Linked DNA regions of Homo sapiens: all the other regions are linked to region 1. The links are contacts of gene promoters, found by promoter capture Hi-C in blood cells and fetal thymus (Javierre and others, 2016). All regions are on one chromosome and are shown on one strand. Each heading gives the region's core, a stretch centred on a gene start or on the middle of the fragment in contact. The rest is flanking DNA. Distances are from core to core; before and after follow the strand shown. Region 1 holds the start of PPID (peptidylprolyl isomerase D). Region 2 has its middle 310 kb from the start of LINC02233. Region 3 has its middle 310 kb from the start of MIR3688-1. Region 4 has its middle 300 kb from the start of MIR3688-1. Region 5 has its middle 280 kb from the start of MIR3688-1. Region 6 has its middle 260 kb from the start of MIR3688-1. Region 7 has its middle 240 kb from the start of MIR3688-1.

Region 1 (3,318 bases), core at 262-2,761:
AGATTTCATTATTTTTTATGGGTGAATAGTACTCCACTGTGCACATATATCAAATTTTAAAAAAAATCCATCTGTAGATGGAAACCTAGTTTGATTCCATTATCTTGGCTATCATGAATAATGCTGCAATGAACATGGGAGTGCAGATACCTCTTTGACATACAAACTTCATTTCCTTTGAATATACTCACTAGAATTAGTGAATCTTATTTTATTCTAATATTCAAATTTAGTCTACCTACTGTCATGTATGTATATAAACAGATTTGAAACATTACACTAAGGATCATAACCAATTATAGTAGCCAAAAGATTAGCACCATGTAAGAGATATCATTAAATACAAATAGTTTTAAATCCTGAGTAATTTCTTCAAGAGGTACTGAGAATTTCCAATCACCAAGCAACCAACGGGAGAAAATTAAACAGTCTTTGGGTGGGCGGACTTGCCACGTGTTACGTATACCTGCAGCCTTTGTGCTCTGAGCAAACTGCCTCATGCAACCTCTGAAGCAAAAGCTGTAAAAATTCCTCCTCTAGATAGCAGCTAAGACAGGTGAGATTAAACCTAGCCCTAGCTAGTTGCAACAAACTGAATGTACGTGTAAACGTGTGTGTGTCCTGTACATGCATTCAAACACATTGCCTGGCCAGCAATTCCAACGTGTTCCAGAACAAGGCCAATCCAGTTACAAAGCAACACGCTCCCTAATTCACCAGGCCTTAGGAACTTCTGAGCGGCTATGTAACCTAGGCAACACCATCACTACGTTGAGCGCATTTTCCCAATGGCAAATTAAGAGAAAATGTTTGCTCATCTGAACGGACCTCTAAATTAAGAATCAGTAATAAGGCAAAAGCAATGAGCAAACAAGTCCCTTTAACGTATAAATAACACAGCACGTGCTGATATATTATCTCATGTGGCAAATATAGTTTCCTGGGGCCCAGCAGACGCATATCCCAGGATATGCTTTCCGAACTGTCCCATTGCAAACATAAAATATTTCATGCTAACTTGGTAGTGCAAAGGTGGCGTGGAAGTGCCACCAAATCAGGAGGCAAACCTAAAGGACGCCACAATTCCCGAACTAGAAATTTCCAGAAACTTCCGCACCACCGATGGCATTGATACAAGGGCGCTGGATCGATCTAGCCCTAGATCTCCGGGCCTGCTCCGGCGGACCAGCCTAGGCAGCCATCCCCTCCGCGAAACTGAGCAGTCACCGGCCGGAGCCGCATTCCGCCCTTGGAATCCCCCAAATCCCGGGAACCCCCGCCTCCTCGGGGCTTTTCCGCGAGCGTCAGACTCCGCTCACCTCGCTCCCCTCCGATGTCCACGTCAAAGAAGACTCGAGGGTTACTGGGGTTGGAGGGCTTGGCTTGGGGGGACGGGTGCGACATCTTGACTTGCAGACGTGTTTAGTACGGAATATCAGAGTACCTAGTGGCCGCCCGGGCCGCCCAAACTCCAGAGTCCGTCTCCGCCGGAGACCGGCAGCGACGCTGACCGGCCACTTCCGACGCAAGAACCGGAAGCCATGGCCTGACTTCCGGCACCGCCCCGCTCCCCCGCGCGGTGTTTCAAAGAGCCTGAGCGACTCCGTGCAGCGAACCGCGTGCCCTCCGCCACCTGTTCCTGGCTTCTCATTTAATGAAGTTGCGATCCCAGTTCTCATTATTCTTCTCGCTTGTGTTTCGTTGTCTTTCCCACCCTCGTGGCGTAGAGAGCTTTGGAGTCAACCCCATGCCAGCGTCAGCTCTGCCACCAAGTTGGGTGTGACTTCTCAGAAACTCAGTTTGCTCCTCTGGAAAAAGAATAAAAACGCTGACCTCGGAAGGTCGTTTTGAGGATTAAAGACATGAATCAGTACAATGCCTGGCATAAACTGGTGGTACCCAACCAATAGGAGCCTTATTATTGCCATGTCGTTACAATTTGATCTTCACATTACAATGTAAGTGGTAAGGCTTAGACTAAACGCTCCAAACAGCTAAAGCTGAGAGTCCAGAAGAGAGCACAGTTTTGATTCCTGATAAAACTGTATTTGGCGGGGCGCGGTGGCTCACGCCTGTAGTCCCAGCACATTGGGAGGCCGAGGCGGGCGGATCATTTGAGGTCAGGAGTTCGAGACCAGCCTGACCAACATGATGAAACCCGTCTCTACTAAAAATAAAAAAAAAAAAAATCACCCGGGCGTGGTGGTGCTTGCCTGTAGTCCCAGCTACTCGGGAGGCTGAGGCAGGAGAATCGCTTGAACCCGGGAGGCGGCGGTTGCAGTGAACCGAGATCGCGCCACTGTACTCCAGACTGGGTGACAGAGCGAAACTGTCCCCCCCCCCCCCAAAAAAAAGAAAAACAAAAAAATACTGTATTACTATAGCCCACTTTTCCCTTATGGGGATCTGTGTAAAACATTTACTTTTTACACACACACACACACACACACACACACACACACACACACATATATATGAGGAGAACATAGCCTTGCCTCTTAATAAAGCCTAATTTTGGAGAAGAGTGGCAATTCCCTGTGTAGATGCTTTGCCCTGTAGTTCTATTGGAGCTCAGCAATTTGGATTCAGCCTGAGGCTTACTTTATCAATAAGGCAGGAGATATCCTTAGATGCTTCACATTTTTTTTTCTTATGAGAAAGTAAAAAGTATTGGAATCCAGCACTCAAATAATGTCTCAAAAGCCAGGAGCCTTGTGTCAACAGCAGCAGCCAGAGTGGCTTTTTGGAAGGAAAGACCAGTGCTAATTTTCCCCTATCAGAGCTGTCACCATCCCTCTAGATGAAGGCTCCTGCCCTACTTGCTACCCGGTCTTAGGATAAGTAAAAGTTAGAAGGGTTACGGTTAAAGAACAACTGATTCCTATTCTCAATTTGAATTTGCCTGTGATGTTATACACTGGACTAAGCACGAAAGTTGATGTTAAAAAAGAAAAAAAAAAAAGCAAAAGCTTCAAGTTCTGACTACATGTATACTAGGCATGTTACCAAAGAAAAGTCATTTAATTTCTCTGAACCCTTCTCATTTCCTTTTCGGTAAAGTGCCAAAGAACAGGGTATGAGAATGGAAAAAGATAATGTGTAAGCATTTGCCTTGTAATCTCTAAAGCATTCTTATACACTCTTTTTTAAATTACTGAAAATTAGATGCTATAGTGCCTGAAGTTGTTTTAAAATAACCTGGAGTCAGGTAAGTGGGTTGGGTTGTGGATGAAACATAAGGGCCAGGCAGATGATTGGTGCATGGGAGTTTATTATACTACTCTTCTTTATTTTGCACATTTAAATTTTTTCATAATA
Region 2 (3,318 bases), core at 497-2,996, 740 kb after region 1:
CTTATTAATAATAATAATTGCAATAGCATGTGCCAGGGTAGCTTCTAACATTTATTCAGTACTTACCATGTGTCAGGCTCTGAGCAATATTGCTTTCAATCATTATGGATTCCTATAAATGGGTATTATTAATGTCCTTAGTCCTCAAATGAGAAAACAGTGGAGCAGAGAAATGAACTTTCTAAGGTAATACAATATGTCTGAGCACAGCTGGGATTTGGACCATAGCCTTCTGGACTCAGAAACCTGTGTCCTTAGCCAATCTGAAGGTTTGCTGGAAGGAGTGGGGGCATAGTCTTTCTAATCATGTCAGGGAGGTGGAGTCTAGGTTTACCACCTTTCAGGAAACTTTGTGAAGCTGTTATTTCTGACCTTTCATAATAAAAGTGTTGCAAGGATTTGGAAAGGCCCTTATGTTCTTTGGGAAGTGCTTGTTTAATTTTTATGATGAAAATTTTTGCTTTCCTTTTTCATCTGCTCCATAGCCTCTCTGCTAAACATAGTACCAATTATTGCTCTTTCTAGATTTAGAAATAGATTGTTTGAAGCTGGGCTTTGTGTCAAGTGTTCCCCAGTAAAATTATAATTTACCTCAGAAACCTTATCTCATTGCTATGTGACTGTTTTCCTTAAGGTGGGAAGTACTGACACAGTAGAACACTAGGGGTCAGAGCGTCTCAGACCAAGTCAGTGCTTGCTTACAAACCAGGGGCGACCTGGGGAAATCTCTTCTAGCTTTAGTTTTCTCATTTGTAAAATTAAATTATTTCTAAGATCTCATGTTCAAATGCTTGTGTCATTAATTTCCAAGTCCAAGTGGGGGACAAATGATAGGATCTAGAACAATGTAATAAATAGTTAAGAGCCTAAGGTATAGAGTCTATCTGCCAGGGTTTGAACCTTGGCTCTACCAATTACTGACCTCTAACTTTTAGTCAGCTACTGTTGTAAAATGGATTTTCCAGAAGCAGACACTGAGTAGTTTGGTGCAGGATAGTTAGGGATAAATACAAATAAAAGGAAGGAGAAGGAAGCAAGATTGTAAAGAGAGTGAAACTGAACTGTGATGTAGGCCTGACAAAGCCTTGGCCAATCCTATGGAGAACTCTGGAGCTTATGCACCTGTCAGATCTGTCCCATGGTTTAGGCCTTTAAACCCTTTTGTGATTCATTACTTTATCAAGTAATAAAGCTTCACATCAAGCCTTATTACTTGATAAAGGCTTCCCTGGAAAGGCTATACCCTTGAGCAAGGTGGTTCTCTGCAGCCAAGGAAAGAGCTGGAAGAACAAGTCATTTCTTGAAGGAGAATTTGGTGGTGCATTTCCACTACAGCTACATGACCCTTTCATGTCTCAGTTTCCTTGTTAACCAAGATGTCATAACAATAGAGTTTACATCTAAGGGTATTGTGACAACTAAATGGATTATTATATAGAAAGTGCCTTGAACAGCAGAGAGGGATACAGAAAGCTCTTGATATCTATTACTGATGATGATGATAATAATTATAATGCTGTAGAATTTTAAAGCTGTCAGGGGAGTTAGAGATAATGTCATTCAGTGGTTCTCAAATTTCAGCATGTATCAGAATCACTTGGAGGGCTTGTTAAAACACAGGTTGCTAGACTGTATCCCTAGAGTTTTTGACTCAGTAGGTTTTGGATGGAGCTTGAGAAGTTTTACTTCTAGTTCATAGAGTCTTTCTTCTGCTTGATCAAGTCTTCTACTGATGCTTTCTATTGCATTTTTCATTTCATTTGTTGCATTTTTCAACTCTGAGATTTCTGTTTGATTTTGATTTTTATTACTTCAATCTTTGTTAAATTTCTCTGATAAATTTCTAAGTTGTTTCTCTGTGTTTCCTTATAGTTCATTGAGTTTCCTTAAATATAGCTATTTTAATTTTCTTGTCTGACAGATCACACACCTCCATTCCTTTAGGGTTAGTCATTGTTACCTTATTTTTCCCCTTTGGTAAGGTCATATTTTCCTGCTTATTTTTGATTCTCGTTGACATGTGCTGATGTCTATGCATTGAATAATTAGTATTTATTCCAGTCTTCACAGTCTGGCTTTGTTTGTGCCTGTCCTTCTTCAGTAGGCCTGCCCAGAAGTTCTAAGCAGGCTGATTTGTGTTCCCTAAGCTCATTACTGCTACAGCTATTTCAGCCTTAGTGAGCACCAGAAGACCAGGTTTGCTGTGAGTCTCACAAGGGCTTCAAGGTTGGAGTGGTGACCCAGTCCAGAAGACTTGTGGAAGACCCAAGTAGGGTACCTAGGCTGTGTGGGAAAGCTGGCCAAGCTTGGAAACTCCCGACTGTCCCGAAGGCCCAGATAGGTGCACTGCCAGCAGTTCCCTGAACAGGTAGGACAATCTTCAGCCTGCAAGAGGGGTTCAAGCTGAGACTTGGCTCCTTCAGAATCTGCTGTGGGATGGAAGATGGTGACCCTTCCTCAGTGGCTCAGACAGGCTCACATCTACCAGCAGTTCCCTGCCTAGGTGGGATAGTCCCTTGACTGCAGCAAGAGGGGGCAAAACTGAGACTGGTCCCCTTCAGGATCTGCTGTGGGATGGAGGCTGGCAAGCCTGTCAGGGAGTCTCAGTCAGGTGAGTAACTCCCAGGCTGTGACATATGGGCAAGTCTTCCTCTAGGTTCTTGTGTGAGCAGTACTAATCTGGGACTACAGCTGAGAAGGGCTAGAAGCTGAACCACAGGGCAACTTTCAGGTCCATTGCCAAGATCAATGTCAGTGAGCAGATGAGCCTCTCTGCCAAGATACTAACATGGGATTGTTCACAGACTCCTTGGCAGATGGTTTTGGTAAAGCTGAAGGCCAGGTGGGGCTACAGCCAAACACTTTGGGTAACAGGGGTTTCTGGGCTTGAACCCGGGAGCATAACCAGCAGGTCTGCCACCTGAGTGTGAGTTTGCGTTCTCAAAACACCCTCCCAGGTCTTAGGCTTCAGTGGGGTTCCACAGCCTCCTATCTGAACCCCAAGGCTCCCACAAAGAAACTTTTGTCTATGGATGGATGCAGAATTCTTGTCCTGAAGGGATACAAGCAGGTGACCTCCTATTCTGCCATCTTGCTGGCCTTACTCTCTAATTTATCTAATCCTTCTTTCCTTCCTTCCTTCCTTCCTTCCTTCCTTCCTTCCTTCCTTCCTTCCTTCCTTCCTTCCTTCCTTCCTCCCTCCCTCCCTCCCTCCCTCCTTCCCTTCCTTCCTTTTCTTTTTTTTGAGACGGAGTCTTGCTCTGTCACCCAGGCTGGAGTGCAGTGGTGTGATCTCGGCTCACTGCAGGCTCCACCTCC
Region 3 (3,318 bases), core at 613-3,112, 720 kb after region 1:
CACATTCTGAGGTACTGGGACTTAGGACTTTGCTATATGAATGGTGAAGGAGTGAGGAGATGCAATTCATCCCATAACACAGCGGAAGTGCCTTTTTTTTTTTTTTTGAGATGGAGTCTTACTTTGTCCAGGCTGGAGTGTGAGGGCATGATCTTGGTTCACTGCAACCTCTGCCTCCCAGGTTCAAGCAATTCTCCTGCCTCAGCCTCACGAGTAGCTGGGATTACAGGCACTTGCCACCATGCTCTGCCAATTTTTGTACTTTTAGTGGAGACTGGGTTTCACCATGTTGGCCAGACTGGTCTCAAACTCCTGACCTCAAGTGATCTGCCCGCCTCAGCCTCCCAAAGTGCTGGGATTACAGGCATGAGCCACCACGCCTGGCCAGAAGTGCCATATTCGTTAATAAAGGTGTGTAAGATCTGAAAGTAGAAACAGAGTTTAGGATGTAGATTGTACTGGGAAGGCACAGGAATGGAACTAGACAGATAGGCACATGTACAGCTTGATTGGTCAAGCACGGTATCATATAGAATCTATAATAAATATTTAGTCCAGGGGCCCAGCTATCATCATTAAGTCCAAAAGAGAATGTAGGTACTTCCTAGGGGTATAACATAATGTCCTTCAAGAATATAGAACTAAGGACAATAAGACTACTCTGAAAGAATTAAATACATAACTATTCAAGAATCATCAGCATAAATATACATAATATAATCTTATAGTCCAGATCAAGTCTTGACTAAAATTATTGGCATATTTCTTTTCTTTCCCCTACAAAATACTATGTTAATTAATGAAGTGGGAGAAATTGGTCATCCATAGAAACATCAAAAACAAAAACAGATCAGCCTGTTTTAGGGGCAAATGTTGGCAACGACCACATAGGTGCACTCTGGGTAGAGAACATCTTGACCCAATGACTTGTCAGTTCTTTGAGCAGATAATATACCTTTTCTTGAGAGGATTGCATCATGTTTTGAGAGCCTGATAGTTTAACATTTAGATCTGTTAACTAACTCACATGTAAACCAGTGAGACCTGGTAACCTGAGAAGTTTGGCTATAGGAACAAAATATGCTGGCTAGATAATATGAAGTGCTAAACCCCTAACTAAATATATTTCTTGCTGAAAGTTTATAAATTGACACGCTGGCTTACACATGAGGATTTTGAAAGCTTTGTTACTATCAGTTGGTATCTTTGAACTTGGCCAATCATGAGACTTGGGAAAGTCAAACTTGTAGGTCTTTGTAAGAGTGAACTCTGTATTTTTGTTAATGTACTAAGGTACTGTCGCTCTTTGTGGCTTTGTGTCAGAAGCCTGAGGATAGTTTTGGCATTACTCCAACCTCATCATACCATTTGTGGTTGAATTTCTGCAATAATAATGGGGTATCTTAGTGTTAGTATAGACTATTACAACTGGGAACCATCAGCAGATCAGGGGCTCAGACACTGGGACCGTGTGTGTGTGTGTGTGTGTGTGTGTGTGTGTGTGTGTGTTTAGGATGCAGGAGAGGAGAATTTGGATGAGAATATGAGGTGAGCCCACAGGCAGAAGGGAATAAAGAAAGGCACTACTAGCTAATTTTTATATGCTATTTACTATGTGCCAGGTATTTTCCCAAGCTCTTTTATGTTTATTAACTCACTTAATTTTTATAAAACTCCATGGGGTAAGTACAATTGACTTCTTTATTTTAAATATAAAATTGAGACACTTAGAGGTTAAGTAAACTACCCAAGGTAGAGTAGGATTTGAACTCAGGATGTCTGGTTCTACAGTCTGTGCTTTTGACCATTAAACAACCATCATCATAGGATCATGTAAGAATTCCAGTGACTAGGAAAAGATCTCAGAGCTGGCATCTGGAATTACTTATCCCTGAGTGCTAGAGGCGGTGACTTTGTACCCCTCCTCCCTTGGGAAACTGCAGGTAACATCTTTAGTGTTTATTGAGTGACACTCTATGCTCGGTGTTAAGCTAGGCATTTTATACTATCTCCTAATAATTTAGGGTTAGTTCTAGAAGGTTCATAATGGAACCAAATGCCAGATGATGATGATAATAGTACTAATAAAAATATTGTGATACTCTATAGCAAAAACAATGATAATGAAAATAGCAGCTAATATTTGTTAAGGGCCTTCATTGTGCCAGGCATTGTGCTAAGCACCTTTTATACACTATCTCATTTATAACTTCCCCAAAGCCTGAGGTGAGGACTATCATTTGGTAGAATTGTTGCATTTTCCAGTTTTTTTTTCATTTAAGCCACAGAGAGGATAAATAGTTCACGAATGGCTCTGGTTGAGGGTAGAAGAGAACTGTAAGGAGGGAGAATCAGAATGGTTTTGAAAGTTGTGGAGATTAAATGTGTAAATATTTAGACAAGTGGTTTATATTATAAACAGCTATACGAATGAAAGATTGCTTATACTATCCACCCTGATTTTGCTGTATACTGAAAGCACTCAGAAACCAGCCGGCAGGGAACACAGTCTGCCCCATCCCACTGGAGGATGCTGGCAGCAAAAGCTTCCACCATCTGGCTTGGCAGTGCCAGGCTCTTACCTTGCCCAGGTGCCTGTGTGGATAAGATGGTGGGAGGGAAGGCAGAACCTCCGAATCCATAACTCCCAAATCCTCAAGGGAGACCAAAATATTATTCTGTTGCTTTCTGGAGTTCTCTCAATTTGAATTAAACTTTCCAGTTAAGTCCCATCCATTGGCCAAGTTAGTTTTTGGCCAACCCAATCTTACTATCTTCCATGGGTCCTGCTTGATGCTGCCTCTTCTGGAAGTGAGAATGGGCATTCATCCCTACCATGCCAATTTCTCAAGGGATAAAAAGGAAACTTCCACAAATATTTCACTTCAGTAGATGATGAAGATTCTATAAAGAGATCATACAACTAGGGAAATCTTCCCTTTTGATCATGTCACTTTCCTTTTCAAAAATCTCTGTAATTCTTCAGTGCTTGCAGAATCAATCCCCAAATCCACCAGCCATCATTCAAGGCCCATTAAAACCACACTAACTAACCATCCTTGTCCAGTCACTTCTGCCTCCTAGAGGTGCATGTGCAAGTGGGAAGTGATGGTGAAATTAACATCCTGGTGGTGAACCTCTGACTAATGGGAAACCAGACACCCTTTCCAATCCTACCAAGATGCATTTTATGTAACGTCTCAGGGGTGCAGTTCTACAGATCCAGCAATGAGTTGCATTTAGCTGTGGCCAGATCAAAAATGCATTCTTGTACTGGTTCTCCCTCCCTCCTTGCTTCCCTTCTCTTGTCACTCACTT
Region 4 (3,318 bases), core at 559-3,058, 700 kb after region 1:
GTATAGTGGTTAATTGCTGGGTTTTGGGACTTGAATAATTGCATGGATGGTGGTACCATTCACTGAGACAGGGAGTGTTGGAAGACTACCAGATTTGAGGGAAGATAGATGTTAAACAGGCAGTTGGACATTATTATATATATACACATATTATATATATACATATTATAGATATACAATTATATATATATTTATATATACATATATACATATTATATACACATATATACATATTATATATATTATATATATACATATTATATGTGTGTGTGTATATATATATATATTTTTTTTGAGATGGAGTTTCACTCTTGTTACGCAGGTTGGAGCACAATGGTGTGATCTCGGCTCACTGCAACCTCTGCCTCCCGGGTTCAAGCGATTCTCCTGCCTCAGCCTCCTGAGTAGCTGGGATTACAGGCATGCGCCACCACGCTCGGCTAACTTTGTATTTTTGGTAGAGACGGGGTTTCACCATGTTGGTCAGGCTGGTCTTGAACTCCCGACCTCAGGTGATCCACCCGCCTCGGCCTCTGAAAGTGGTGGGATTACAGGCGTGAGCCACTGCACCTGGCCAGTTGGACATATTGACTTATACCTTACAGTAGAGATCTGGGCCAGAGATGTAAATTTATGATTTTATATGGTAATTAAACCAAGGATATGAATGAGATTTCCTAGGAAAAAAAGTATATAGTGAGAAGGAGAGAGGCCAAGAGAGGAACTCTGGAATTTAATTGTTTAGTAGAAAGTATGACTGAGAAGGAGCAGCCGGAGGAGTAGGAGGAAAACCCAGAGCAGGAGACAGTGGGAATGCCCGACAGTGTTGGATGCACTGAAGATATCAAGCAAGGGGTTTAAAATACTGAAAGCATTTGGTGAAGTGGAGGTCTTGTGTGACATTAGTGAGAGTTATTTATATGAAATGATGGGTGGAAACCAGATAAGAGATACCTGAAAAGTGAGTGAGAGAGGATGAAAGGGGAATGGTTGGAATATATAGCTCTGTGAAGGAAGAAGAGGTAGGCCAGAAGCTAGAAGGGAGATGTGAGGTCTTTCATGTACGTCCGTGTGAAGAGACTACCAAACAGGCTTTGTGTGAGCAACATGGCTGTTTATTTCACCTGGGTGCAGGCAGGCTGAGTCTGAAAAGAGAGTCAGCAAAGGGAGATAGGGGTGGGGCCGTTTTATAAGATTTAGGTAGGTAAAGGAAAATTACAGTCAAAGGGGGTTTGTTCTCTGGCGGGCAGGAGTGGGGGTTGCAAGGTGCTCAGTGGGGGAGCTTTTTGAGCCAGGATGAGCCAGGAAAAGGACTTTCACAAGGTAATGTCATCACTTAAAGCAAGGAATGGCCATTTTCACTTCTTTTGCGGTGGAATGTTATCAGTTAAGGCGGGGCAGGTCATTTTCACTTCTTTTGTGATTCTTCAGTTACTTCAGGCCATCTGGACATATACATGAAAGTCACAGGGGATGCGATGGCTTGGCTTGGGCTCAGAGGCCTGACAAGGTCCATAGTGGTTTGTTTATTCATTTTTTTCTTTGCATATGTTTAAATGTGAATGGGAAGGAACCAGTCAGGAGGGAAATGTTGACTTCATGATACAGCAAGTTTTCTGAGAGGGGAGTGCTTTGAATCCCTATCGCTCTACCCTCCCACAGGCCTCTCAGATTACTTTAGGAAGGAGATTTCTGTTATAATAGGAAAAGTACGGCTACAGCTGCAGGTAATGTTATATGTTTGGTAGAAGTAGATGGGAGGCTTCTAATTTGCTTCTTTTATATTTACCTAAAGTAGAAAATAAAGCTATTTCCTGAGAATGAGAAAAGTTCTGTGAGGGGTTGGGGGGGAGGTGTAGGAGTGTTAGTAGGAGGATTCAAGAGACTAGGGAAACATAGAGAAGTATTCCAGTTATCTATGGCTGCCTAACCAACCATCTCAAAGTTTAGCGGCATGATTATTTCATTGTGCTCATAGACTTTGTGAACCAGGAATTTGGACAAAGCACAGTGAGGACAGCTTCTGTATTGCATGGTAGAGGCTCTATTGCCACTGCACCCGGGCTCCTAACTGTTTTTCAAACTTATATTGAACTACTCGGTTCACCTTCTGGGGTGGCTGTCTTTGATGATACTGTCTCTATGGCGGCAGGTATCATAAAGTCACACTGACATGCTCATTCACAGAAATCATATCGAGCACTTAAGACTGACGTATTTGCTTTTCTTCTTTTAACCTCATTCTTTTTTTTCTAAAGATTTTTATTTTATTAATGTTTTATTTATTTTTTGTTATAGGGACAGAGCTATAAACATACATTTTCCATTCATTCTAGAATTGCCTTTTCTCTCTCCAACCTGGTTAGAAGGCTTTCAAATCACCAGCTTAAACACCATCACTTCTTTGAAGCCTTAACTGATTTCCTTATTTTGTTGGTGGTCCCAAAGCATTTGGTTTGAGTTCTTAAGTACCATACCTAGAACAGTTGTTCCCAAATTTGTCAGTGCAGTATCATCACCTGCAAATCATTTAAGAAAGGCAGATTTCAGGGTCACACCCCAAACCTACTGAGTCATTCCTTTTGGGCACACAGTGATCAACAATTATGTAATTGTTAGTTGATTGATAGACATTTGCATAAGACACCTGTAGGCCCATTAGACTCTTTTTTTTTTTTTTTGAGGTGGAAACTTGCTCTGTCTCCCAGGCTGGAGTGCAGTGGCATGATCTCAACTCACTGCATCCTCTAACTCTCAGGTTCAAACAATTCTCCTGGCTCAGCCTCCTGAATAGCTGGGACTATAGGCATGCACTACCACACTTGGCTAATTTTTTATTTTTTTTAATTTTTATTTTTTTAGTAGAGATGATGCAGATAGGCGACAGGGAAATACTGGGTGGAAGAGGGTGGTTCTGTGGCAAAGGCCCCACCATCACACCTGAAGACCCCCAGCTCTAAATGAGGACAGGCATTCCTGTTTTTCACACCCAAAAAGTTGCCCTGTGGCTCACCACATCCTCTATCCTCCACCCATATAAATCCTGAACCCCAGGTTCCAGAAGCAGACAAGCAAGCCAGCAGACCAGCAGACGAATGGTAGAACAGCATGGCAGAGAAAGAGAGAAGAGGAGAAACAGCTGAACACCTAGAGGAGTTCAGATAGAGGTGGTTGGAGAGGAGTCCGGCTGCTGGGCAGCCTGACTCCAGGGGAAGATCACCTTCCTACTCCACCCCCACCTTCGGGGTCCCCATGCACCCTGCTGAAAGTGACCTTCACCTCACATTCATCCTTCAAGCCCTTGTGTGACCTGATTTT
Region 5 (3,318 bases), core at 373-2,872, 680 kb after region 1:
ACCATGGCTGGCTAATTTTGTATTTTTTGTAGAGATGGGATTGCTCCATGTTGGTCGGGCTGGTCTTGAATTCCCGACCTCGTGATTCGCTTGCCTCAGCCTCCCAAAGTGCTGGAATTACAGGCGTGAGCCACCGCGCTTGGCCTACATAGATTCTTCTAATGTTCATTTCTCAGTCATCTTCACTGAACTTTTAGCAGCATTTGATCCAGCTGCTTATTCCCTTTTGGAACACTGTGTTCCCTTGGCTTCCAGGGCTCCATTTTCCCGCTTTTCTTTTTCCTTCCCTAGTTGCTCCTTCTCAGCCTCTTTTGCTGACTCCTCCTCCTCTTTCTCACTTTCAAATGCTGGAATGCCCACAGGCTCAGTCTTTAGACTCTTGTTTTCTTTTCTACACTTATTTTCTCCTAGATGATCTCATACAGTTTTATGGTTGAAAAGATCTATATATATGCTGAAAATTCTCAGATTTACTTCCCCAACCTAGGACACTCTGAAATTCTAAATGCATAAATCAACTGTTCTTTCTACATATCGACTTGATTTCTAATGGGAACCCCCAGCTTTATTAAGAAATAATTGACAAATAAAGCTATATACATATATATATATAGTGTACAACATAATATTTTGATATATATGTACATTGTGATATGATTAAATCAATCTAATTAACTCAAATGGGGATCTTGATTATTAAATATCCAACGCCAAACTCTTCATTATACTGCTCAAATCTCTTCCCCCTACAGTGGCTCATGTATTAGTACACGGCATCGCTATTCACCATGTTAGTTCTACAATTTCAACAACCTGGAATGAACTATCTTCTTTTCTCTCATGATCCACATGCAACCCGTCATCACCTCTTATAGACTCTACCTTCAGAATATGTCCTTTCTGCTGGGCACAGTGGCTCACACCTGTAATCCCAGCACAAGCTGGAAAACAGCATGGGCCATGTAGCAAGACCCTATCTCTACAAAATATTTAAAAATTAGCCAGGCATGGTGACACATGCCTGTAGTCCTATCTACTTGGGAGGCTGATGTGGAAGAATTGCTTGAGCCCAGGAGTTCAAGGCTACAATGAACTAGGATTGCACCACTGCACTACAACCTAGGTGACAGAGTAAGGCCCCATCTCTAAAATAAAAGAAAAAGACAAAACTTTCTTTTCACCTCCCCCGCCAGAACCTATCCCAAGTCATCATCTGTTTCCTGCAATAGTCTCTTGAGTTTTATTCTTACTCCCCTCTATTCTATTCTCTACACAACTGCCAGGTTGATCTACTGACATGTAATCAGATCATGTCATGACCTACTCAGAATCCCATGGTGACTTATCTCTAGTTTATTGTGGTGGCGATGTCTATTTGGGAAAACAGCATTGCACATAGCATTGCTTCCAATCAAGGAACTCACTTCACAGCAGATGAAGTGTGGCAATGGGCCCATGCTCATGGAATTCACTGGTTTTACCACATCTCCCACCATCTGAGGCAGCTGGCTTGATAGAACGGTGAAATGGCCTTATGCAGACTCAGCTGACACAGTTTCAGGACCCGCTAGGTGACAATACCTTGCGGGGCTGGGCAAAGTGCCCTCCAGAAGGCTGTATGTGCTCTGAATCAGCATCCAATATATGTTGCTGTTTCTCCCATGGGCAGAATTTACGGGTTCAGAAATCAAGGGGTGGAAATGGGAGTGGTACCATTCACTATTACTCTCAGTAACCGACTAGCAAGATTTTTGCTTCCTATTCCTGAGAACTTATGGTCTACTGGCCTAGAGGTCTTAGTTTCAAAGGGAGAAATGCTTCCACCAGGAGATATATTGATTCCATTGAACTGGGAGTTAAGATAGCTGCCTGGCTACTTTGGGTTTCTCATGCCTCTGAGTCGACAGGCAAAGAAGGGAGTTATGATATTGACTAGGGTGATTCCTGATTACCAAGAGAAAATCTGACTGCTACTCCACAGTGGAGGTAAGGAAGAATATGCCTGGAATACAGGTGGTCCCTTAGGGCATCTCTTACTATTACCATATCCTATGATTAAGGTCAATGGAAATCCATGACAACCCCTGCAAGGCAGGCCTCATAGACTATACCCTTCTGAAATGAAGGTTTGGGTCTCCCCACCATGTAAAGGACTACAACTAGCTAAGGTGCTTACTGAAGGTAAAGGGAATATAGAATGGTTAGTGGAAGAAGATAGTTATAAAACCATGACCATATAACCAGTTACAGAAATAGAGACTGTAATTGTCATGAGTATTTCTGCCTTATATTTGTGTGTGTGTATGTGTGTGTATTAAGCAAATAACTTGTTTTATTCCCTTACCATGTAACATAGGATGTATTGACTTTATCTCATAATATTTAAGTATTGCTGATTCTAAATCCTAGTATTTAAGTTACAGGATATCAAGGAAAAGAGTAAACACCGCACAAGGACTTTACCTCATGTTCTGGAGAAGAGGTTCGTGTGTTTTGGTTGGATGTAGGATAGTTATACCATGTTAGGAAAAATTATGGCCTTGTTATTGCCCTTACTTGACGATTAAGTATTGTTTGAGGAGATGATTATGGGTTCAAATTGACAAAGGGTGATTTGTGATGATTATTTTTAAATGTCAACTTGACTAGGCCATGGGGTGTGTAAGCATTTGGTCAGACAAATGTTTGTGCCTGTGAGGGTATTTCTGGACAAGGTTAGCATTTAAACTGATAGACTGAGTAAAGCAGATTGTCCTCCATAATGTATATGGGTCCCTGCAAACAGCTGAAGGCCTGAATAAAACAAAACGGCTGACCCTCCTGTGAGTAGGAGGAGATTCCTCCTGCCTGACTACCTTTGAGCTAGGACATTGATATTTTTTCTCCTTTGAACTGAAACACCAGCTCTTCCTGGATCTTGAGGCTATGGCCATCAGACTGGAACCACACCATGGGTCTTCTGCGTCTGCAGCTTACAGAGTGTAGGTCTTGGAACTTGTCAGCCCCTTAATCACATGAACCAATTCCTATGTGTGTGTGTGTGTGTGTGTGTGTGTGTGTGTACATATCCTGTTGATTCTGTGTCTCTGCAGAACCCTGATGCACTTACAATGAAATATTCCACCCATGGACTAAAAGGCTGTCATGACCAGGCTTCTGCATGCTTCTCCAATGTCTAACGTCTTCTCCTTGTTCACTCTGTCCTGCCACACAGGCCTTCTTCTTTCTTAAACAGGTCATTGACTTTCCCATCTTGGGGCCTTGACATCTGCTCTTCCCTCAACCTAGAAGGCACTTCCTCCATATCTTTTTAGTGCT
Region 6 (3,318 bases), core at 492-2,991, 660 kb after region 1:
TTTTAGTCTATAGGAACATGCCCCTGAGTGCGTAGCAAGCAAGTTTGCCCTTGTTACATATATCCCTTTCAGAGTTCACAGCAGGGTATAGCTTCCATTATGCAGATTGTTGATCCTTTTTCCTTTTTTTTAAGCTCTCGTGACCACTAAATCTGCATAATAAGCAACTAAAATGATTTCTGTTGGAAGAAAGTTTTTTTTTTTTTTTTCCTTACTGTCTTCACTCCCAAATGCACCCAGGTCAAAATTTAGCAACGCTTGGCTTGAAATGGCATCCATGTTTTGTTATGGTAATTTTTTATTTTTAAATGCAGAAGTGATTTAGTAGTAAAATCCTGCTTGCTGGTTAGAGGTCGTGGGAATGCCTCTCCATCTGAATGGAAAGAAATTGGTTTTAAATTATTAGATGGCCAAAGGCTTATAGAGAGTGGAGTTAGAGAAGCAGCTTATGACCTTCACCTACACTTGAACTGGAATGGTAATCTACATTTCCAAAGGCACTAAGCGTTCCAATTTAAATTTCTGTGGTGACACTTGAAAAGATTGATCATTCTATCCTGAGAGGAGATGAAGGAATGAGGGTGAGGGGTTATGAGCAGGCAACACTGCCTGCTCAGTAGGAGCTGACAATCAACTAGGATAGCCCCAATTTCCTGTTGCAATATTTAACTCACTTTTGTGTTTACATTTGATAAACACAAGTTTAGAGATTCAAGAATTAGAACATCTCTTGTCTCACTCCAGCTACAAATATTGATTAAAATGGGAAAGATTGTTTATTGTAAATTGCATTTATCTTCATGATGTGGGAACAATGTAGGTTTTCAATGAATGCTTCTTTGTGTGTGAAAGATATGTGAATAAACCAATTTCAATTTTTTTTTAATTTTTAATTATTAATTTTAAATTGACAATAATAATTGCATAATATTTATGTGGTACAATGATGTCTTAATGTATGTGTGCATTGTGGAATGAGCAGACCAGGCTAATTAACATATTCATCACCTCACAAGCTTATCATTTCTCTGCAGGGCAAACATTTATAAACTACTCTTTTGGCAATTTTAAAATATACAATACATTATTGTTAACTGTAGCCACTTTGATATGCAATAGATCACTAGAACTTATTCTTCCTAACTAAAACGGCCTAATTTCGAAATTCTGAAATCTTACTTTACATTTTACTTTGTATTTTTAGAATGTAATATCTTTGAAGGCAGTGATATGTTTCCTTCAAAGACTTTAATGAATGCAGTGTGTCAAAAATACACTGATTAATGTGGATACATAATAATGATGTCACAGTTTTGTCAGGCTCATAGTCTCCCCTATTGAATAACATAAACCTGAGAAAATGATGAGATAAAGCTGATTTTTTTCAAGATGAGAAGGAAGAAAATTTGGATATTTAAGAATTTAAAATAAAATGACAAATTAATCCTTCAGAATTATGTTTGAGAATGCTAAAAATTAGCCTTTCTTGAGTAAAAAACAAAAGTGTATGTCAGAAGAGACCTCTTGTGTGTATAATAGCTTACTGCAGTTTCTTTAAAAAAAAAAAATCCACTTCTGGAAGATAGAATGAATATACTATTCCCAAAGCCCAACCCTTAAGGAGGCCAATGCCTTATCCATTGAATGAATGTACTATTCCCTATTGCTTTCACAAAGTACAACTACAAACCCTAGACTTTACATATTAAACAAGCATATGATGACTCTGAAAGGTGGAGAAGGCTGACTGGCTGGAGACCACAGGACCAGAGGCAGTGTGTTCCCTGGGTTTTCTTTTTAACTCACATATCCCAGACTCATAGATAAAGAAACTCGTAACCCCGAAATACCAATGAATGCACGCCAAACAAAACAAAACAAAACAAAAATTACCAAAAGCCTGCCCTCTCCAGCTGAAAGAACAAGAGATGGGTAGCTAATGAGACAGATAATGATTAGACAGGCTGGGCGCAGTGGCTCACGCTTGTAATCCCAGAACTTTGGGAGGCCAAGGTGGGTGGATAGCTCGAGCTCAGGAGTTCAAGACCAGCCTGCTGGGCAACATAGCAAGACACCATCTCTATTTAAAAAAAATATATGTACACACACACACACACACACACACACACACACACACACATAAAAATACATATATGAGACAAAGATTGGACAATAACTGCTCCACTCCAGCCAAACACCACAGAAAAAATGTTAGCCCCACTCCCAGTGAAAGCTCAAGAGGAAGCAGACTTGCACTGTCCCCAGGATGTAATGGCAGTAGCACCAGCCTCCACCTCCCACTCTCTCACTGGACAAGTGTCAGAGAAAACTGAGTAGGGAGATGGAACTTTCATCCCTCTCATGCAGTGTCAGTGGATACCACATGGATTTCCACACCTATCCAGTGGTAATGAGATGCCTTTGCCCCTTCCTTCTAGGGTGGCCTCAAAGGAGACCTACTGGAGACAAAGCTTTCACCTAAGCCACTTCTCCAACATAATGTCAGGCCAAGAGGGGAGCAGTAATAAGGTTCTTCTACCCCTCCCAGCCAGGAGTAGAGGCTGAATGCGAAGCAGGACTTCCACTCTCACCTAACAGTCATGAGTAGCCCCTCCCCTCAGGTCTCAGTGGGAGCCAGGTGGGAACCTGAAACTTGACCTCATCTGGCAGTAATCAGGCAGCTCACTCCCCACTCCCATTTTCCTTTGCAAGAAATTTAAATAAGATCCCAAACCTCAATATAATACACAAATATCTAGGTTTTAATAGAAAAATCACTCATACCAAGAATAAAGAAGACCTCAAACTGAATGAAAAAAAGATAATAAATAGATCCTAACACTGAAACGACAGCAATGTTAGAATTATCTGATAAAGGTCTCAAGGAAATCATCATATGTTTCAGTAAGCATTATAAACATGCTTGAAACAAATAAAAAATAGACAGTATTATATCAGCAAAGAAATAAAAGATATACAAAAAGATAAATGAAAAGTTTAGAACTGAAAAATATAATAGCTAAAATTCAGTGAATGGACTCAAAACAGTATAGAGGGGACAGAGGAAAGAAATAATGAACTTGAAGATAGGACAATAGAAATTACCCAATCTGAAGAACAGAGAGAAAAAGATTGAAAAACAAACAAACAAAAAAAAAGAACAAACCTCAGGGAATTATGGGACTATAAAGATTTAACATTCTTGGTATCAGAGTTCTAAAAGGAGAAGAGTAAGAGGATGGAGCTCAAAAAATATTGAAGAAATAATGGCTGAAAACTACCCAGACCTACAGATTGAAGATACTGAGCAAACCACAA
Region 7 (3,318 bases), core at 351-2,850, 640 kb after region 1:
TGGCCAGGAACAGTGGGTCATACCTGTAATCTCAGCATTATGGGAGGCTGAGGCAAGAGGGATTGCTTGGTGCCAGGAATTCAAGAACCAGCCCAGGCAACAAAGCAAGACCCTATCTCTACAAAAAATAAAAAATACAGCCAGTTGTAAGGGTGTGCACCTGTAGTCCTAGCTTCTCAGGAGGCTAAAGTAGGAGGATCACTTAAGCCCAGGAGTTCAAGGCTGCAGTGATCTATGATGATGCCACTGCACTCCAGCCTGGGCAACAGGACAAGACTCTGTCTCAGAAAAGAAACATTTTAATAATATTGTATGACCTTGCCAAATGCACTGTGGTCAAATGGGGACCAATGAAGTAATAGTATCTCAACATACGTGAGGTTTTCTTTAATTTATATAGATTGAAACCTTTTTCCCCAAATAGGACTACAAAATTGGTTTTAGGATCAGGTGAGTGTCACATTTGGTATTAAGATGAAAATATGTATATGTACAATGCTTCTAGATACAGTTTAGTGAGCTAATTTACTGTGGTCCAAGCACTTTTCTAGATGCTAGATATTTACAGATTTTACTAAAGTGAACCGAGGCACCTTCGAGTTATACTTTCTTACTTTAGAGAAGTGTCTCAGGCCCTACATGGAAAAACCTACGGAGTGATCCCACCATCTTGATCACAGCTGGATTGAAGGAGGTGTCTGATCCAAGAGTTGCCAATGTGGGCTCACCAGCAGTCTGTAAGAGGGCCCTGGAATGAGTGCCGTGACCAGCCAGTAAGAAGGAAAGCAACAACTAACAACCTTAGCACATTCTCTTTGGGGAATTTCTATGAAAAGGCAAAAAAAAAGGACGCACCAAAGAAGTGAGTATTCAGAAGCCGTGACTAACAGAAGCAATGAGGATGCAGAAATCATGAGCAAGAAGGGGCCCATGAGGTCAAGAAAGCAATTCATCAAAGGCAGGAATCCTGTTAAAAACTTAAGACACTTCTTAGGGAACAATAAAATGATCTGTCATCATCACACCTGAATACAATGTCCAGTCTTAGAACAACTCCCTGAAGCTTGGCTCTGAAATGTTCTTGTTCTTCATGAGACCAGCATGGAGAGCTGTTTTTTGTGTATCCTCTCTGAATAACCATTCTGTTCTCAGCATCTAGAAACAGTGCCTGGGATAATGCCAAAGTGTTTAATAAATGAATATCATATCAAGCAACCTAAAGGACCTCAATTACACAGGTAAATTGGAGACTCAAAAATCAGACAAAATGCATGTGTGAAGGGGCATCTATAACTGCTCAGACTGGTGAATATTCAGAAGTGAAATAAATGACTCGTAACAAGGCTAGCAAGGGTTTCAGATTAATCAAAAGGAGCAAAGGATAAAAGACTGTTTAAAGAGTTCAGTTTTGTGTGACTACAGAAGTTCAGTGGAGTGAAAGGTCAATGAAGACTGAAGTGTCCATAAGAAGAGACGAGACTTCAGCTATAGCTTCAAGTATCATCTGAAGACAAGAATGAAGGCAAGAGGCAGGGCTATTGGCATGGCTGTGGGACACAGGAGTCATGCCTCATTAGATGGGACATTATGAATAGAAGATGCAGAGAAATTGGTTGGGATAAGTAGGGAGTGAGATCAGGACAAAAAATGTTTAGAGATTGTTCATTTTAGGGGATCAGTAAATGCTTATAAAAAGAAACAAGGAAGGAAAGGAGAAAGAACTGACAGAATCTTTTGATGAGACAATGGTAGGAAAGGATGACTTGATTAGTCAGGACCAGGCAGGATGGAGGGTGAGGCAGGGAAGGTAGCTAGCTGGGAAACCTGCTATCATCCAGGCCTGAGCCAGCAAAGCCCTGGAAAGTATGGTTTCAAAGGCAATTCAAAGGAAAAAAATCAATAGAATTTGGTGTCTAATAGCATATAAGAGACTTACTTAAAAGTTAAGCCAAAATTTGTAAAATGTTCAAGATTCTTATTCTGAATGCTTAAGATAAAGAGAATAGGCTGGGTACAGTGGCTCATACCTGTAATCCCAACACTGGGAAGCCAAGGTGGGAGGATCGCTTGAGCCCAGGAATTCAAGACCAGCCTGGGCAACACAGGGAGACCCTGTCTTAAAAAAAAAAAAATTATTCAAGCTTGGTAGCATGTGCCAATATGTCCCAGCAACTTGGGAGGCTGAGGTAGTAGGATCACCTGAGCCCAGCAGTTCCAGGCTGCAAGTGAGCTATGATCGTACCACTGCACTTTAGCCTGGGTAAGAGAGTAAGAACTCATCTCAGGGGAAAAAAAAAAAAAATTAACATTGACAAAGATAAGGAAGTTGCAGAAAATGTTAATTTTTAAAACTGAGTCAAAAAAATTCTTGTCCACGGGATTCAAAGTTCCACACTGTTTCCGTTGTACCTTCTGTTAATACATCCATAAGGTAAGGCTCTGGATGTGGTTGAGGAAGGGGGCATTCTACCCTCTTCAGGTACAATTACAGTACTGGTGAGTCCACACAGTTTATTCACTGCATTTTCCAAAACATCTGATTTTTTTTTTTTTTTTTTGAGACCGAGTATTGCTCTGTCGCCCAGGCTGGAGTGTGATCTTGGCTCACTGCAACCTCTGCCTCCCGGGTTCAAGTGATTCTCCTGCCTCAGCCTCCTGAGCAGCTGGGACTACAGGCACGTGCCACCACGCCCAGCTAATTTTTGTATTTTTAGTAGAGACGCGGTTTCCCCAGGCTGACCAAGATGGTCTCGATCTCTTGACTTCGTGATCCGCCCGCCTCAGCCTTCCAAAGTGCTGGGATTACAGGCGTGAGCCGCCGCGCCCGGCCATCTGATTCATTCTTTTGTGTCATTGTAAAGGTTGTGAATCATTGAGCGCAGGCACTACGTCTAACCAAGCTATTTCTAGCACCCCTGCAAAATTAAAATTATTTGCTCACATGCAAAACTAGGCCCAGAGAAGGACACTGACAATGTGGAATACATAATTTCAAAAATTCACCTCAAAAAGCTGGAGGACCAGTAGAATGAAAACCACCAGCCTACTCATGGGCGAACTGTGGTACTTGTGTCCTTTCTTCCATTTACTTTCCTGAGGAGAGGAGAGACTGCTCACCTGGTATTCCACTGTGCCCCTCCCCGGCAGACCCCTCACTGACCCGTGAGGCAGGAGCAGAAGTTGTTCACTATAGATTATTGCTCCATCATAATATAACCAAGGAGGCTGGGCACAGTGGTTCATGCCTCTAATCCCAGCACTTTGGGAGGCTGAGGCAGGAGGATCACTTGAGGTCAGGAATTCCAGACCAGCCTGGCC

What was found. The method cuts DNA at HindIII sites, captures the fragments that hold promoters and counts their contacts. A CHiCAGO score of 5 or more calls a contact.
Region 2: a fragment that was not itself captured here is called in contact with the fragment with the promoter of PPID in region 1 in 3 of 17 cell types (endothelial precursors, megakaryocytes and erythroblasts); the score reaches 12.6 in endothelial precursors.
Region 3: a contact is called between a fragment that was not itself captured here and the fragment with the promoter of PPID in region 1, in 3 of 17 cell types (megakaryocytes, erythroblasts and endothelial precursors). The highest score is 9.0, in megakaryocytes.
Region 4: a contact is called between a fragment that was not itself captured here and the fragment with the promoter of PPID in region 1, in 5 of 17 cell types (endothelial precursors, M2 macrophages, megakaryocytes and 2 more). The highest score is 8.9, in endothelial precursors.
Region 5: a contact is called between a fragment that was not itself captured here and the fragment with the promoter of PPID in region 1, in 3 of 17 cell types (endothelial precursors, megakaryocytes and M2 macrophages). The highest score is 8.7, in endothelial precursors.
Region 6: a contact is called between a fragment that was not itself captured here and the fragment with the promoter of PPID in region 1, in 5 of 17 cell types (endothelial precursors, megakaryocytes, erythroblasts and 2 more). The highest score is 14.3, in endothelial precursors.
Region 7: a contact is called between a fragment that was not itself captured here and the fragment with the promoter of PPID in region 1, in 5 of 17 cell types (erythroblasts, endothelial precursors, megakaryocytes and 2 more). The highest score is 9.6, in erythroblasts.

What each region holds. Positions count from the first base shown.
Region 1 is chr4:158,721,885-158,725,202 of GRCh38, forward strand. PPID (peptidylprolyl isomerase D) reads right to left here and starts at 1,512. Exons shown (of 10, transcript NM_005038.3): 1 at 1,320-1,512. The coding sequence starts at 1,404. RefSeq lists enhancers at 922-1,505, 1,139-1,618, 1,506-2,090. The HindIII fragment of the contact is 3,604 bases long and covers 1-2,967 here.
Region 2 is chr4:159,462,768-159,466,085 of GRCh38, forward strand. No RefSeq gene overlaps it. Among named protein-coding and RNA genes, the nearest start is that of LINC02233, 310 kb to the right of the region's middle. The HindIII fragment of the contact is 1,113 bases long and covers 1,191-2,303 here.
Region 3 is chr4:159,441,770-159,445,087 of GRCh38, forward strand. No RefSeq gene overlaps it. Among named protein-coding and RNA genes, the nearest start is that of MIR3688-1, 310 kb to the left of the region's middle. The HindIII fragment of the contact is 1,364 bases long and covers 1,181-2,544 here.
Region 4 is chr4:159,424,332-159,427,649 of GRCh38, forward strand. No RefSeq gene overlaps it. Among named protein-coding and RNA genes, the nearest start is that of MIR3688-1, 300 kb to the left of the region's middle. The HindIII fragment of the contact is 6,952 bases long and covers 1-3,318 here.
Region 5 is chr4:159,405,021-159,408,338 of GRCh38, forward strand. No RefSeq gene overlaps it. Among named protein-coding and RNA genes, the nearest start is that of MIR3688-1, 280 kb to the left of the region's middle. The HindIII fragment of the contact is 6,655 bases long and covers 1-3,318 here.
Region 6 is chr4:159,383,320-159,386,637 of GRCh38, forward strand. No RefSeq gene overlaps it. Among named protein-coding and RNA genes, the nearest start is that of MIR3688-1, 260 kb to the left of the region's middle. RefSeq lists enhancers at 1-357, 358-931. The HindIII fragment of the contact is 1,455 bases long and covers 1,015-2,469 here.
Region 7 is chr4:159,362,671-159,365,988 of GRCh38, forward strand. No RefSeq gene overlaps it. Among named protein-coding and RNA genes, the nearest start is that of MIR3688-1, 240 kb to the left of the region's middle. The HindIII fragment of the contact is 1,078 bases long and covers 1,062-2,139 here.